2 separate regions of the Homo sapiens genome follow, and region 2 is linked to region 1. Evidence: promoter capture Hi-C in 16 types of primary human blood cells and fetal thymus (Javierre and others, 2016). All regions are on one chromosome and are shown on one strand. The core of a region is centred on a gene start or on the middle of the fragment in contact, and the rest is flanking DNA. Distances in the headings are between cores, read along the strand shown. Region 1 holds the start of TLE1 (TLE family member 1, transcriptional corepressor). Region 2 has its middle 98 kb from the start of RASEF.

Region 1 (5,589 bases), core at 2,023-4,522:
AAAAAATTACAATTATTATTTCAAATAAAAAAGTAATAGATTTAAAAGATGTCTAGTTGCTACGATCAGCATCTATAACTTTTCCTATTTTGTTTAGTATCTGTACTAGATAACATCTAGCTTTTGTAATTACTTAGGCTATTGCTGAGTTGAAAATTTGATAATCAGCAACAAATGAATGGGAATATACCCACATATGCATCAAAAGAAAATGAACAAGCTGACAATCTTTCTGTTTCTCTGCAGAGCATAAAAAGGGTACTGTGTTTTTCAGAGAAAATTTCCAGTGGGAGCATCATACATTTCACATAAAAACATCATTGACATATGAATGTTAAAGGTAAAGAAGATTATGGTTAACAGGCTTTAAATGGAAGACCAAAATTATAGATTTCATGAGGAGGACTATTTTCTTTTAAACAGGCTGTAGGCAATCTGCACATATATTATTTATTTAAAACATAAGATTAAAGCTACTTGACTGTTTAAACGCCGTCATTTGTAATGCAGTTTGATGAGAGTTTTGTAGTATAATTATTACAGCATGACAATCGTGGAGAAAATATGACCTTGAAAAGGGCAGAGCCTTCTCCCACTCTGACAGACGATGCTCTAAATGGGAAAAAAAGGCTTCAAAAACCAAAACCAACCATTTTTATGCACACAATTAAAGGCCTTCCAATTTTAAATTCATAATGCTCTGTAGATACTACAGATACTTCATTATAAGGAAATCAGAAGGCCTGGTGTTTCAAACTCTATTGGCAAGGAAAGACTAGTTAAAAGAGAATTTCTAGTGTTTACTCATGGCAAACTGGGAAATATGGTGAGCAGACACATTGTCTGTGAGTAGTTATGTTAGAGAACATTTAAAGATGCCTTAGTACTGATTTTGAGGGCAGCGGGGTGGGGAAAGAAGAGAAGTAGCAACACTTTTGCCCCATCTCAAAGCATATTTTAATGGCTCTGTTTAAACTTAATGGGAGTGTGCCAGTTATTCAAGATACAGGCACCACATAAAGCCTGGGTAAGCCGGGGAGGAATATCAGTTGCTCCAGTTGTCACAGCATGTATACAAGCATACTTGTGGCATCCAAGCACTTTCTGTCCGGTCCTGGAGCTGATTATGGGATGAACTGGCCGCAGACTGGTATATGTGGCTCAATCACTAGATAATTTCAAGGAAAACAGGTTGCTAAAGGCCCTGGGATCCTATGATTCCAAAAAGTCCTGTATGTCGAGCAAAACTGTCATCGTCACCAAATTTAACCAAGGAAAGTGAGGCAGTGCTTTCTTCTTTTTTGTTCTCCATGTTAGCAAAATGAATAATACAGCCGCCTTCCCAACTGTACTTAATGAGAACACCACAAAGCTACAATGCCCAACTTGTTTAAGAATTTACTATGGCTTCGTACAGACTGGTTAAAATCGCTTTTTTATTTTTTCATTTATAATTGATATTTGGGAGTGATGCAATTATAGACAAATCAATATCATACATATTTAAAAACAACTCCAACAGTGAAATGTATTATCTAAAATGACTTCTAAAACTATTTCAAGAAAAAGAACTCTGTAAAAGCACATCTTTAAATAAAATGTATGTCTGTTTAAATAAGCTCCTTCCCGTAAGTCTCTTGAAGGTAAAATAATAAAATAATAACGTGGGGGTTATTAATACCAAAAACTTAACTAGTTTCCAACATAAGATAAATACTTGTCCAAGATGTGCCCTTATGGAAGAAGTTACCACCGTTTGGCTAAACCAGCATTATTCATTCACTGCTCATGTGGAAATGTTCCTCAAACAAAAGCATAAATGCGGCAATACTGACGGTTTTCTGCTGTGTATTTAGAGACATACACAAAAACCAAAGACTCTCAGCATTAATTATACAGCATGTCTTGATTATTACAATCTCAAAATCCCTTTTAACTCAAGTTCCACTTCATAAGAACCTTAGCCACGTCATTTACCTAACTCTTCCCATTTAGCTCTTCACACAGCTCAGCTCAGGAGTACCACCCAGACTGTGGGGGTGGGGTGTGCGGGACAGGTTTTTCAGGTCTCAGTGCTGGTTTATTACATTGTCTCTCTTTGTTCCCAGGAATTGGAAACAGACTCGTAGTCTTGTAGCTGAGAAGTTCCTAAAAACCTCAGCCGCTCCCCACCTCTCCCAACACAGCGAAGTCAGGACTTTTAAGACGAAGACCTGGGATTTCGCGCCCCGGGCAAAACGTCTCATCTGCGGACACGCGTGCCTTGTTCTGGCAGCACCCTGGGAATCCTTCCCGCCAAACGGGACAGGACGATCTTTTTGAAAAGTGGCTTGAAATCCTGCAATAAAAATCAAATCCTACCACTTTGGGTGCAAAGGGGGTGGGTGGGGTGGGAGGACATCACAGTCGTCTTTGCTGGTGTACCTACGCCAACCGTGGCGTTGCTCATTTACGCATTTCCAACTAAGTGCACAGTCCACTCCCTCTCGTACATCCGTAAAAAGGCAGCTCAAGGAAAAACAAACCTCAGATAAATTTTTGAATGTGGCCTCACTTTTAGAGTAGCATCAAACAAGGGGTCCAGCACTGAAAAACACATTTGCTCGAATTACCAAAAGCCCCCCTCCGCCTCCAATAAGAAACTCCGCAGCTAGTCTTTGAGTTACTTTCACTTAGATCTGAGGATTTTCATTAAAGGGAAAAGTGAGCAAGTGGCAGGATTTTTGCTAACTCGAGCCCTCAGCTTCCCCGGCTGCACGCTCGCCAGTCCCTCCCGCTAGCGCGCGCCCGCGCGCTCTCTAGCCAGCCCCACGTTACTTTGATTGACAGCCCAGCCCCGCCGCTCTCCTTCCCACCGACCTTCCCATCATCAGTGCCAATCTCCGCGAATCGCCGCTTCCCATTGGCTGGTTTTGGCGTCCCGCGGCTCCTCCAGGAACAGTTCCTCACCAAGCCCGGGAGGACGCGGCTGGCGGAGGAGGGGCCGGGATGGGAAGGGAGACCGAGGAGACGGCGGAGATGGAAGCGAGAGGAGGGGGGGAGGGAGAACGCCCCGTCCGGCGCTGCGCTGCCATACGCTCCGGGGAGGAGCGCGTCAGCGCCCCACGTTGGTTGCAGCGCACGCGATTGGCTGATGCGGGCCTTCTGCCCCCCCCCCACCCCCCAACCTCCCGGGCTCACGTCCCCCGCCGGCTCCGCGCTCGCGCCCCCCGCCCGAACGGGGCTGGGCGGGGCCGGCGCTGGTTAGCTCCGGAGTGTGAAACCGCGTGTTAATGTAAGCGGCGCGAGAGGCGCGGGCGGCGGCGGCGGTGGGAGCGGCGGCTGCAGAAGCAGCAGCAGCAGAAACAGCGGCGGGTACTCTGTGCCCCGCGTCCCGGAGGCAGCCGACTGCGCCACCCCACCCTCGCACGGCCGGGCGGGACCCGCGCCACCAGCCCGGACCTCCGTCGTCCCGCGGCGACCAAAACCCCCGCTGGCCCCACCGCTGTGACTACTCTGGACTCGCCCGCAGAGTTTGCCCGCCGGGGAGGGTGGCCGATTGGCGGAGCGCACTCCTGCTGTTTTCCCCACCATCTCGTGGATGTCGTCCCTCGGGTGGTGAGAGAACTTTGCAGTGGGCTGGAGCGCCCTTTGCGGAGAAGCACACGAAGGTGAAGGAAGGAAAGAAAGAAGACCGAGGAAGAAGGAGCTCGGAAGAAGGGTCCGGAGCGGCCGGTCCGGCCGTGCAGGGCGAGTGCGCCCGAGGCGCGGCGCCCTGATGCTCCCCGGGCTCGAGGAGCATTGGGCACTTGCGGGACTGCTCTCGGTGGAGTAGCCCCGTCGGGCCCGGAGGGTTTGTGCAACCGCGGAGAACACCGAGTGCTGGTCGCACGGGGCGTGCCGAGCCGCCTCCCGGCGCGCCCTCCGCACTTTCCCCGCCTCGTCATCCGTCGCTCCCCGGCCAGGAGCCTCCGCTGCGTCTTCAACCTCGCTCCCCTTTGCGTCCCGGGAGCCTGCGAGCACCCGGCCGAAGGCGCAGCCGAATCTTGCGGGAGTCGCCCCGAAAGCGTCGGGTTTGTGTGGGGTTAGCGGGGGCCGCCGCGCCACCTGCACCTCGCCCGCCGCCGCCTCGGGGAAAGCCCGAAGAGGAGGCGGACCAGGAGAAGAGCAAAGAAAAGCAGTCCGTCTGGATTTGTTTGCCCAGGACTGGCGCCGCGCACGCGGATCGCCGAGGGGAGTGCGGTCGGAGTCACCGCGCCCCCGCCTCCCCGCCCGGGCAGCTGAGGCCGGGGGTTGGAGCGCTGCCCCCGCGCACAGTCCCCGAGCGCCCGACGTCTCCGCGCAGGTTCTTGAAGCAGCTGGGCCTGGGGCGCCCACTAATGTGGCCCTGAGGGCCGGAGCCCGCACCGACGGGAGCGGGAGCCGGAGCAGCTGCGGGCGCCGAGTGGCCGGTGCGCCCGGCGGAGCGCGCGTGCGTGGCCAGCGCGCTCCCCGCTTCTGCTTGGCTTTCCGGCTTAATTTTCCTCGGCGGGATTAAAGTTGGAAATTGACCGGAGAATTGAGTTGCCGGGGAACAGAGCCCCGGCCGCCGCCAGAGCGATGTTCCCGCAGAGCCGGCACCCGGTGAGGCGCGGCTGGGTGGTGGTGGGGGGCCAGGATCGTTGGGGAGGCGCTTCTCCCGGGCGGTAGGGAGACTGGTGGCTTCTGAGGCCCGGCGGACCTTCTCGCCCTCAGCGGTGTAAGGCTGGGGAGGTCTGGGGCCCTCTCTTCCTGGGGTGGGGAGTGGGCCGAAACTCTTAATTTTCTCCCTCCCTTTGGGCTCCTTCCTACTTGACGTCTATACCGAGCGGACAGGGGCGCTGGGGAAGGCTGGGGTTTCTCTCCTGCAGCCATATCCCCTCTACCTTCCCCGAGTGGGGGCAGGGCGCCCCCCCCTTTGTTTCTCCTCTCGCCTATTTACATGTCAATGCGGCCCCGGTTCCGGTGCGTCTGGAGGTGGCCCCGGCGACTCTGGGAATGGGGAGCGTAAAGGAGTTGTTTTTCTCCTCTGGTCCCCGGGGTCATTATCGCCGCCGTGGGGGAAGGGGCGGCGACACCGACAATCTGGCCTGGTCTTCCCTGGCCGCCGGGGAGCCCCCTTCCCTTTGGCCTGGTGACCCGGGCGCACTTAGCGCAATCCGCCCTGGAGACTGGGAAGAGCTTCCGAGCCTCTTTAGAAGCCGGGGCCCGGGGAGGGTCCGCTTTCCCCCTCCCCATAGTGAAGGGCAAACTCGAGTTTGGGGCCTCGTTTTCAGCCACTTCTAACTTTATGTTTATGTCCCACCCGTTCTTGCCTTCTCTGACTTACTGCTTTATTCATCCGCCCGCATTCCCGTCCCTCGGTCCCCCTCGCTGGTCGCCCCCAGACGCCGCACCAGGCTGCAGGCCAGCCCTTCAAGTTCACTATCCCGGAGTCCCTGGACCGGATTAAAGAGGAATTCCAGTTCCTGCAGGCGCAGTATCACAGGTGCGTGTCCGGCCGCGCCATGCGAGTGGTCGCGGGCGTCCCGGTGCCCCTTGCACCCAGCCGGGTGGCGGCGGCGCCTGTACTTAGTTCTTGCGTCCAGGCGG
Region 2 (5,564 bases), core at 181-2,680, 1.3 Mb before region 1:
AGTTGCTTTGGGATCCTTAACCGAGATGAAGAAAACTGAAGAAATCAGGAAAAGGTAAGAAAGTTCTGTCTGAACGTACGTTTAGGGAAAAACGGGGTGCAGAGAGCATAAGCTCCTTAGAGCCCTGGATCATACGCTATTTCTTCAGCATCCACACTTCCCGGCTTCTTTCGTGTACTTTACATATTCAGGTTGGGCTGAATTAAGGTGTAGTCATTTCCCCAGATCTTATTTTACACAGGAGAGCTGAGCTGGTGAAGGGAGGTGGGGAACCACAGTGGCCTCACCTTTTGTGCCAGTGAACGTACTCAGGTGGATCTCATCCTCTAAATTCAAGGTCAGACCATTTCCTTTATGAACTTTAGAGGAGATGAAAAAGAAGATGGAGTAAGGAGAGTGGAAGTCTGGGGAGAGCGGAAGAGCAAGGAGCAGCAAGAGCAGGATGAGGAGATGGTTGGAACCCAATCAGATGGTGGTGGCCAGCCCGCTTCAGCCTAGTGGACACTTGGAGGTGGGCTCACACCTTGATAGAGCCCAATCTGAATGCTTTCCAACCTCTTCTTTGTAAAATAACTAGGAGTGGCTGCAATTTTAAAAGTAGCTGCCCACCGATTGGTAATGTCAAATTTAGCAGTCCTCAATTCTGAAGAGGTTTATATGTCTGATGGAAAGAGACAAGTAGACAAACAGGAGGCAACATGACACAGCATGAGGCACCCAAGAGCTGCATCAGGGATATGTCTAGATCAGTGTTTCTCAAGTTTTAAAACTTTTTCCCACAAAAAAGTCTTTTTAGGCATATTTTCCTAATTGTCCTCTGCCCAGGAAATGTTAATGCCACAGATATATTACATATATGTTTATGAACTGTGCACATAGCTGTGTTTTATACATTTAAAAAGTAAGGTTCCTCTCACCCTCCCCCCCGAGAAACAATTCTCCCCTCTTGGGGACAATATCACCCCCCCTTGAGAATTCATGTCTAGATGACTTTTAAGACCTAGGAATTGCTGAGTTGGAACAGAGGTCATTGTACCCAATATTGTATACAGATGGGCTTAGGAATCTAACAGACCTGGCCTTGAATTCCACTTCTGCCACTTCCTAATTCTGTGACCCTGGGCAACTTACAAACATATCTTGAGTTTTAGTTTCCATATCTATCTTATCTATATTAAAGACTATTTAGATTAAAAAGTAAAGAAAGTTAAGTGCTTTGCACATTGCTTGACACCTGGCCGATGATCAGAGTGGATGTTCTTTCTAGTTATTTGCCAGGCTGTTTTCCCCATTCTCTGCATAGAACACTAAATGAACACCAAATGAAGTGAAGTATGTGCTACTTAGGTCAAGGAGTGATACAAATGTGAGCAACAATTTGCAGAGATTTGTTTTTTCTTCTTAAAGAATCTCACCATTAAAGAGCATGACAACTTTATTCTCTAAAGGGATTTGCTCACCTGGGATCCTTGGGCCATTGGGAAGCTCTGTCTCCGCTTCCTCTCACCAGCCTGTCCTTACTTTGGAGAGGAGGCTGCAGACCGCTTCAAAATGTTAAAAACAAAGAAACGACACTCAGATGAACCGTAGTCTAGAAGAAAATTAGTTTCTCTTCAGTTGTGTTTCCTTAGCCTAAGGTGACTCTGTACATGGGTAATGGGAAAAAGCAAAAAAAGAGAAAAGAAAAAAGAGTGATTGAGGAACAGTTCTAAAGAGATGAACAAAAGCAGAAAAGTGCCTCCTTCACAGTGCTGGTGGTGTCTAGGAAGGAGCTTAAGGTGGCAGTCATTTTCTAAATGAGGTGTTTAAATATATCAGCTCTCAATTTTTAGGAGATGGGGAGATGATGCATTTGGATAATCCAGGACGCTTGCTTTTCTTTTACCCATTAGACATCAGAATTTTTGCCATATTACAAAGTCTTAAAAGTCTGAGACCTGAAAGGACTTTGAGGTAACAACTACAGTTTTTTTGATAAATTAGTTGAGAAAACTGAGACCCCACCAAAGAGGTTAAGTTATTTACTCAAGGTCACATGGCCTGTGAGTAGCAGACTGATGTACATACCCAGGTTTTCTGATCCCAGATCTACTGGGCTTTTGGTTCCAAGGTAGCAGTTAGTAAAACTAGGACTCGGAAAAAGCACAGGGTGTGGAGTCCAGTTGACTGGGACATGGATATAGCTCTTCCCCTTATCAGAAAGGTAGCTTTAGAAAAATCATTTAATCAGGGTTGTTTCTGATAAATAACAGCATTGTGGAACAGCAAAATTCTACCTGAGGAGCAAATATATCTGCACATTGTAGGTGCTTCATCAGTGAGACCGTATCTCAAACTTCAAACCCAGGTCTCTTGGTTGGTTCCCAGAATATTGATTGGCCCCTTTGATTGGAGGCCTCTCAAATGGGTCCTAATAAATTTACATCTGTGTCAATTTTTATCATAAGAAGTTTGTCAATATCATACATTATAAGAAAAATGCATATTAAAACCATAATGATATATCACTTTTCCTACTGATTAACTTGGCAATTGCAAAAAGTTTGATAGTAAATTTTGTTGGGAAGTATTTGGGAGAAACAGGCACATGCATAGTTTGGAGTATTAACTGATATCACCCATTCAGGGGGTGACTTGGCAATATCTATCACAATTTAAGGTGCACATATTCTGTAACCCAGCAGCTTCACTTTCACAGATATGTCTACACATATCCAAAATGCCTTATCATTGCAGCGTTATTGGAACACAACCTACATATTCATTTAAAAATTAGTTAAATATATTATGGTACACCTATACAATGGAGTATTATAAGGCCTCAGGGAAGAATGAACCAGCTTTACATATACTGCTCTGGAACCATGTCTAAGATGTATTGTCAAGTGAAAAAGAAAGCTACAGACTGATATGTATACTATGATATGGTTTGTGGTATAAAGGTTGTGGATACACATATGCTTACTTATGCATGGGCTATCTATGGAAGGATACAGAAGAAATTCAGGAGAGGAGAACTGGGGAATTGGAAGACAAGAGTGAGAATGCGACTACTGCTTGGTATCCCTTTTGGAACCTTCTGAGATTGGCTCCATGTATATGTATTACCCATTTAAAAAAATAAACACAAAGCCAAAAGAAAGCCCAGCCATGCAAAATACTTGTGGTCTCCGGTGCTGGCACAGGCTGTCCTCCTGCCCACCTACTCTAATCTGCTTGGCTAACCTTCTGTGGCTCTCTAACCTCTTGGATCTTCACCTTGGCTCTTTCTCTTGATTTCCAATACCTACCACCAACCTCCTTTATCCTGATGATTCATTGCAGAAGCACACTTCTGGCTTCTATCGGCTGGCACTCTCTCCTGGACACGAGGTTATGAATGCTCTCTGGCTCTGTGGAGTTAGGCTTGCTGGAGCTGCCCACTCCTGATCAGGCCAGCTAGGTCACTAGTTAGCATATACATCCTGGCTCCAGACACTGCCTATGTACAAGGAGAAAATGGTCTCCTTGTTTGTCCATTGCATAGAGGTACAAGCAGAGCTGCCTATGGCAACATTTTACCTTTGATTGGTCGGGGACATCTTGGTTTCTTCATTTACTTGTTTCCTCATTGGTTGATCTGTTGGTTCTTTTTTCAGTCATTCAGTCAATACTTCTGAATGAGAGGAACACAAGCTACAGTCCCAAGGGATTAGTATTAAGAGTATACCTCCAAATTTCATATTCCTCCATTTTCCTTTTCTCCAACCCAATGGATAATTTAGATTTTAATATATCCTGATAGCATGAGACAATAATTAAAGCTATTGCCAACTCAATATGTTGTATGAACAGTGGCAGCTGTGAGGATTGATAGGACCTCCCTTTCACCCTCACTAGCTAGAAGGATCTACAAGGTACAACAAAGAGGCATTCAGTTTAATGACATTTGCAGATGAGCCTTATTTCCCTTGGCTGATTTTTTTTTGAATCAGTAATTCTTATTATTGAGTATTTTCAGGGTTTCAATTCTCTCAGAGGGCACCTTGGGAGGAACAATGAATGCCTTTGGCCAATTGACCACTTTCTGTCTTCAACCACCTGGGACCCAGGATGAGGTTAGAAGTACTGCCAGGGACCCCATCAATATTGAAAAATGCCTCTGGCCTGATTAAGCTTTGGAAACGCCTCCATTGATTCTATTCAAATATTTATCGAACACCTACCTCAGACCTGGTACCCTAATTGACCTCAGAAAAGTCACCTTTGCCCAAGACTAGGAGGAGGAAGTATACAGGAATGCTGGGTGGAAAAAGGAAATTCCTTATGGGTTGACTGAAAAATAGGTTAGTTCAGGTCCAAGCAGAGAAGGATCCAGGAGAAACAAACATTGGGTCTAAGAACAATGATAAGGGTTTATGGCCCTTGTTACCAGCTAGATGATCTGACCTGAACTGGAATCCAAGAAGTAAAGAAAGTCTTTAGAGTGGCAGCAGATACAAGCAATGACCTTCACAAAATCACCTTTCTGAGACACCATCTTGAACGACTGCACAGAAAAAAGCATTACAGTCTCTTGACTTGTCCTATAGAAAATATTTTTCAAGGAGACAGTGTTAAATTTAGTATTTCAGAGTACAGACTTGAGGCTGGGCTTGGTGGTCACACTTGTAATATCAGCATTTTGAGACTCCAAGGTGGGAGGATTTCTTGAGGCCAGGAGTTGGAGACCAGCCTAGGCAATATAGTGAGACTTCATCTCAACAAAACATTAAAAAAAAAATAGCCAGGCATAGTGGCATCCATCTGTAATCCTAGCAATTTAGGAGGCTGAGGTGGGAGGATCACTTGAGCCAAACAGGAGTTTGAGGCTGCAATGAGCTATAATCATGCCAATGCACTCCAGCCTGGCTGACAAAGCAAGACCTTTCTCTATAACAAAACAAACAAACAAATAAGGACTCTGGAGACACACTACCTACCTGGGTCTGGATCCAGGCTTTACCTCCAAGTTTGCTTAGCCTCTCTGTGCCTCCCAATCCTCATCTGTAAGATGGAAATATGATAGGACTCATCATATGTGCTTGTTTCAGGACAAAATGAGTAAAGAACTGAGCTGGCACCAGAACCCTAGTGAGTCCTCAAAAATACAGTTAACTGTGGCAAGTTTTGCCCTTCTGAAAATGACCATGTCTTCCAAGGAGTGGGATTGTTAATTTGCCTAGTTTTGAATTTTGTGCTTTGAAATTTTTGCACTGCCAAATACTTTTTTTCCTATTCTGTGGATTTGCTTTGTTGTCCTTTCCACATCATTTTTTGCTCTCACAGAATTTATGCAAACAAAGGCAGCCACATGGTCTGTAGTCCCTGAAATGCGTTACTGATGTACATGTGCTCCTTAAGTTCAAGGAGGAGCCATTATTACTGGCTTAAAATGTCATGAAGAGGTTGCAGCTGAAAATCCCTGGGGTCAGGAATGATTTGTTTCAATTTTTTACCTGTTTCCTATTGCAAGTATCATTAATAATGTTGACTAAATCATTATCTTTGCAAAAGCCTGCCGAAATTATCTTTTCCCTGAACTT

Evidence for each region. The method cuts DNA at HindIII sites, captures the fragments that hold promoters and counts their contacts. A CHiCAGO score of 5 or more calls a contact.
Region 2: a fragment that was not itself captured here is called in contact with the fragment with the promoter of TLE1 in region 1 in 1 of 17 cell types (fetal thymus); the score reaches 5.3 in fetal thymus.

What each region holds. Positions count from the first base shown.
Region 1 is chr9:81,687,230-81,692,818 of GRCh38, reverse strand. It overlaps TLE1 (TLE family member 1, transcriptional corepressor), which reads left to right and starts at 3,272. Exons shown (of 20, transcript NM_005077.5): 1 at 3,272-4,602; 2 at 5,385-5,485. The coding sequence starts at 4,579. It overlaps TLE1-DT (TLE1 divergent transcript), which reads right to left and starts at 3,106. Exons shown (of 4, transcript NR_109772.1): 1 at 2,860-3,106. RefSeq lists silencers at 2,725-2,874, 3,025-3,374 and an enhancer at 3,247-3,961. The HindIII fragment of the contact is 8,493 bases long and covers 1-5,589 here.
Region 2 is chr9:82,962,405-82,967,968 of GRCh38, reverse strand. No RefSeq gene overlaps it. Among named protein-coding and RNA genes, the nearest start is that of RASEF, 98 kb to the left of the region's middle. The HindIII fragment of the contact is 5,454 bases long and covers 1-4,157 here.